2 separate regions of the Homo sapiens genome follow, and region 2 is linked to region 1. The links are contacts of gene promoters, found by promoter capture Hi-C in blood cells and fetal thymus (Javierre and others, 2016). All regions are on one chromosome and are shown on one strand. The core of a region is centred on a gene start or on the middle of the fragment in contact, and the rest is flanking DNA. Distances in the headings are between cores, read along the strand shown. Region 1 holds the start of RS1 (retinoschisin 1). Region 2 overlaps SCML1 (Scm polycomb group protein like 1).

Region 1 (2,790 bases), core at 106-2,605:
ATGTTGCCCAGGCTGGTCTCGAACTCCTGACCTCAAGTGATCTGCCTGCCTTGGCCTCCCAAAGTGCTGGGATTACAGGTGTGAGCCACCACCTCCAGCCCACCATAATCATTTTTAAGTGTACAGTTCAGTAGTGTTAAGTATATTCACATTGTTGTGAAACAGATCTCGGGAACTTTTTCATCTTGCAAAACTCAACTCTATACCTATTAAACAACTCCCCTTTTCCTCCCATCAACTTTATTCTGAATGGTGATGTAAAAATAATAGCTAATTATGTCTAGCACTGTGCTAAGTATTTTATACATATGATCTCTTGTAAGCCTCAAAATAACTCTCGAAAGTAGGCATTATTATCATCATCTTACAGATGAGAAAGTTTAGGCGCAGAGATATTAATAACTTGCCCTGAGGTCACAATGTAACAAGTGCTAGTGCTGCGATTTGGCACCCAGTCTGGGTTGGCAGTCTGTGCTCTTAAACCTACCAGGCTGCACTCATCTCTTGATTTACTTAACCAGCCCCCTAACCTTGGCCATTTAGATTGTTTCCAATTTGTTGTTGTTAAAAGTAACACAGCAATGCACAGCTTTGTGTTAACTGTCCTCCCACCACCACCAAATTTAGCATTTTCCTGAGTGAATAGGTGTGCACATGATGCCTAGTTGCTTTCAAAGAGGGGAATCCATGACATTTTCATACAATTCGAGAATGTTAGTGCTTATGTGGCAGGAAATTGTTCAAGGTCACCCCCTAAAAAATGATGGCGAAGAAAGGACGAAAACCTGAGACTTCTGGTTGTAGTTCTCTCCCTCCATTGCTTCCCTTACATTAAGATAGAATGAACAGTATGGGCCGGGCGCAGTGGCTGACGCCTGTAATCCCAGCACTTTGGGAGGCCGAGGTGGGTGGATCACCTGAGGTCAGGAGTCCGAGACCAGCCTGACTGACATGACGAAACCCCATCTCTACTAAAAATACAAAAATTAGCTGGGCGTGGTGGCGTGAGCCTATAATCCCAGCTACTCGGAAGGCTGAGGCAGGAGACTAGATTGAACCCGGGAGGCAGAGGTTGCAGTGAGCCGAGATGGCGCCATTGCACTCCAGCCTGGGTGACAAGAGCGAAACTCCATCTCAAAAAAAAAAAAAAAAAAAAAAAAAAGAACGAAAAGTATCTTCCTCGCGAACTGAATCTCAGTTGATGCTAGTATCTTCCATGAGACTTCCTTGTTGAGGCAGGTAACTCTGTGGGTTAACTTGATGGGGCTCAGCCAAAGACCTAAGAACTAAATGGATTAAGATGCTTAATGAGGCCAGGGCTCAACTTAATCCCCTGCTCCTGGGCCAGCTCTCCAGTTCAGTAAGGTAGAGCTTTGGCCGAGGACGAGGGGAAGATGTCACGCAAGATAGAAGGCTTTTTGTTATTACTTCTCTTTGGCTATGAAGGTATGTGCTATTCAACCATTGACATTCATTGCATACTTAATACATAATTTAATTAATATCGTTGATAAATAGGAATATAGCCTGAATAATATAAATATTATTAATTAGCAACACGTTAATTAACTAACATGTGTTATTAATGAACAACAGTTGTCTTTGTGTGGATGGCTTTCCAGTTCTGTGAGGAGCCTTCTAAAGTTCAAAGGATGCTTAAAATCCAACAGAAAACAGGATGGGTCTCAGAAATCTATAAAATAGCCATAAGTTGCAACAATTAATGAGAAAGTATGGCATATTCTGGAAAACTTTTAGGAGTCAAAGTGGGAGTGATTGTAGAATTTAATATTCCAAACCGGAATGCTATTGACGGTGGAGGACGATGCTATTAATAATTCTGTTGGGACGACAGGTGTAACCCAGGACCATCCAGGGCAAATTGGGGTGTAAGGTCAACCTAGTTTAAATATGGATTAACGTAACATACCCAGTACCACTGGAATCTAATAAAAAACATAATCCAACTGAGAGTCAGGAAACCTCGGAGACTCAGTACACTCACTCATTTTAAAATTTCTAAATATGACCCTAGCAGAAGTGATATGCTTCAATTAGGAAAAAATAAGGGCAAATCTGTAAAATGTCATCCAGTTCCAATTCCCTCTCAATCTTTGAAATAATATTCTTTCATGCCTCTCTCAATTCTCAAGTACCCATCTGCTCAGAATTTCTCCTCAGGTTCATCCAGATGTTAGAAATTGGTTGCCTGTCTTCTTTGTGGACATCGTGTATTTGTGTGTTATAGAAAATAAATTAAAAAGCAGGGAGAAGGAGGTCTCTGTGCTCTGCAAATGACCTGGTAGACAGACACAGCGAAACTCACACAAGTAGAATCAGAATTCTTGGTTTCACGGCTCACTGTAGCCTCAACCTCCCAGGCTCAAGCCATCCTCCTGCCTCAGCCTCCCTAGTAGCTGGGACTACAGGCACGCACCACCACATCCGGCTAATTTATTGTATTTCTTGTAGAGAGGGGTTTTCACCATGTTTCCCAGGCTGATGACTTTTGTTACTTAGTCACATTTCTCAGTATTTGGAAAGACTGGTGACAATATAATTCCAAGGTCATTCTGCAAACCCCAAGGTATATTTCTAAGTAGGGATCATGTAAACCAGTTGTCTGTTAGGATTTTTTCCCCTTGCAATTAATAGTCTGCAACTTGTCCCAGTAACTCTGACTACTTTAAGATGCTTTGGGGTTTTGTTGTTTTTCCTTTTACTCCTTGCCCCCTCCTCTTTCCTCAGCAAGAAAATCTAAGCAGACTCTTTCAAGGCTTAGATCTAAAT
Region 2 (2,803 bases), core at 153-2,652, 930 kb after region 1:
TCTGTGGAAAAATTGTCTTCCACAAAACCAAAACCGGTTCCTGGTGCCAAAAAGACTGGGGACAGCAGTTCTAAGCCTAAAATATTTACTGTGTAGCCTGTTTCAGGCAAGTTTGCAGACAATGGTTACAAGCTCTTACATCCAGAGAACAGAGAACTCCCTATTTGGATTAATAACAATGTTGTCAAAATTTGGCTGTAGTTAGACACAGGAGCACTGTGCAGTGAGTCCACCACTGGACTCCCAACATGTTTACATCTCTGGTACATATACAAATCAACACCAATCTTTCACTCTTTGAGCTTCTCGCTCCTGTTATGCCCTCCGTCCATAATACCCTGTTGTGTCTCCGCCTAGGAGAATCTATTCAACTTCAAGGCTTACTTCAAGTTTCACCTCCAAAAAGCAAGGGCACCATGCCAATGATCATCCCATGTGGATGTGACACGGCTTTCCCTGAACTACAATAACACTCACACTTTAATACTTCTACGGCAACTGTCACACATATCTGGTTACATGAGAGGCAGCATCAAACAGCATTAAGACCTTAGGCTTGTGGTCAGAATACCTGGGTTTGGGTCCCACCTCCCCCACATACTAGCTGTGTAAGTAAGTTGAACAACTTACTTAAATCCTTTTTTTTTTTTGTCTGTAAAATGGGAATGATAATAGCACATACCTCACGGAATCGTGAGGATTAAATTAATACATGTCAAGTGCTTAGAGTAATGCATGGCAAAGATAGCAAGGGCTTTTGAGTATTGACCGCATCTATCCAACAGAACTATTTCTCAAGGAGCACATAGACAACAAGCCTGGGTCATAACGTCATTTTCATTCACATTGCACCTGAAGTGAGTTTTTATGTCTTTTAGGTACCAGGGTATGATGCAAGGAGCTGGGCTTTAGTTATAAACACTTGAATCCAAGTCCAAATTGCCAAATTTGCCGTTTCACTTTAGGCAAATATTTCACCTCTCTGTGCCTCAAATTTTCTAACCTGTAAAGTTGGAATAATATCTACTTCACAGGGCTATTTAGGCCAAAAATTACACAGTTAAACTCTCAGCATCATGCCTGGTTCATAGTAGACACACCATAAATTTTAATTCCTTTTCACTTCTTCCCATAAGGCAAACAATTACAGCTTTACAACATTGCCTTAGAGCCCAACCATGACTAGAATGTGCAAAATTAATTTCATTTTTAAATCTCAAATCCCACAAAATGAGTTTACTTAAAATGAAACTCATTTATATTTACCACAGAAATCTAAATTTCTTTTTTTTTTTTTTTTTTTTTTGAGACAGAGTCTTACTCTGTCACCCAGGCTGGAGTGCAGTGGCATGATCTCGGCTTACTGCAACCTCTGCCTCCCGGGTTAAAGCAATTCTCCTCCCTCAGCCTCCCGAGTAGTTAGCGTAACAGGCTTGCACCACCATGCCCAGTTAATTTTTGTACTTTTAGTAAAGACTGGGTTTCACCATGTTGGCCAGGCTGGTCCCGAACTTCTGACCTCAAGTGATCTGCCCACCTCGGCCTCCCAAAGTGCTGGGATTACAGGTGTGAGCCACCGCGCCTGGCCAATTCTTGATAACACCATAAATTTAAGTTCCTTTTCACTTTTTCCCACAAGATAAATTACAGCTTTACAACATTTTCTCAGAGCCCAACCATGACTAGATTCTACAAAATTAATTTCACTTTTAAACCTCAAATTCCACAAAAATGAGTTTAAAGGAAACTCATTTATATTTACCCCGGAAATCTAAACTCTTGATAATACCACACATTTTAGTTTCTTCTCACTTCTTCCCACAAGATAAATAATTTCAGCTTTACAACATTTTCTCAGAGCCCAACCATGACTACACTGTGCAAAATGAATTAATTTCACTTTTAAATCTCAAATCCCGTAAAAATGAGTTTACTTAAAATGAAACTCACTTGCATTTACCACAGAAATTTAAACTCTTAATTACACCATATACCTTAATTCCTTTTCACTTCTTTCCATAAGATAAATCACAACTTTACAACATTTTCTGAGCCCAACCATGACTAGATTGTGCGAAATTAATTAATTTCACTTTTAAATCTCAAATCCCATAAAAATGAGTTTACTTAAAATGAAACTCACTTGTATTTACCACAGAAATTTAAACTATTCATTACACCATACACTTTAGTTCCTTTTCACTTCGTCCCACAAGATTAATTACAGCTTTACAACATTTTCTCAGAGCCCAAGGCTAGATTGTGCAAAATTAATTAATTTCACTTTCAAATCTCAAATCTCGTAAAATGAGTTTACTTAAAATGAAACTCACTTATATTTACCACAGAAATCTAAACTCTTGATAACATAAGAACAAGAGGCCGTCTGATTTTCTAAAAGACTTTTTTTAGACATTAAAGACATTTTCAAAAGTCGTAAATATTCGCTCCGGAGGCGCAAGGCTTTCACCTGCCATTAATTCATCAGATAAGGCACAGCTCACAATGAGGCGCCACTCCCACCGGGACCACTTTGAGGAACACACAGCAAAACGCTCTGTTTGTTTTAAGAACAATCACTTTCTAAACCTTCCTGCGGGACTCTCAAAGGCAGCCCTTCCTTTGCCGCCAGAACCGCATCCCATCGCCCAGCACTTGCCGCAGGCCGGACAAGTGAGGCCCAAAAGGGCACCCAGCCCACGCCCCGCTTTAGAAAACACCGCGCGGCAAAGCTGCTTGGAAAATCGCTATCTTTTAGTCAACCTGAAGCCAGTTTGCCGCACTCGGGGAGAGCCGGGGAGAG

The links. Contacts are between HindIII fragments. The CHiCAGO score rates a contact against its expected background, and 5 or more counts as called.
Region 2: a contact is called between a fragment that was not itself captured here and the fragment with the promoter of RS1 in region 1, in 1 of 17 cell types (naive B cells). The highest score is 5.3, in naive B cells.

Annotation. Positions count from the first base shown.
Region 1 is chrX:18,670,673-18,673,462 of GRCh38, reverse strand. RS1 (retinoschisin 1) reads left to right here and starts at 1,355. Exons shown (of 6, transcript NM_000330.4): 1 at 1,355-1,446. The coding sequence starts at 1,395. The HindIII fragment of the contact is 14,405 bases long and covers 1-2,790 here.
Region 2 is chrX:17,738,352-17,741,154 of GRCh38, reverse strand. All of the region lies in intron 1 of SCML1 (Scm polycomb group protein like 1), which reads right to left. Among named protein-coding and RNA genes, the nearest start is that of SCML1, 2.3 kb to the right of the region's middle. The HindIII fragment of the contact is 3,729 bases long and covers 1-2,803 here.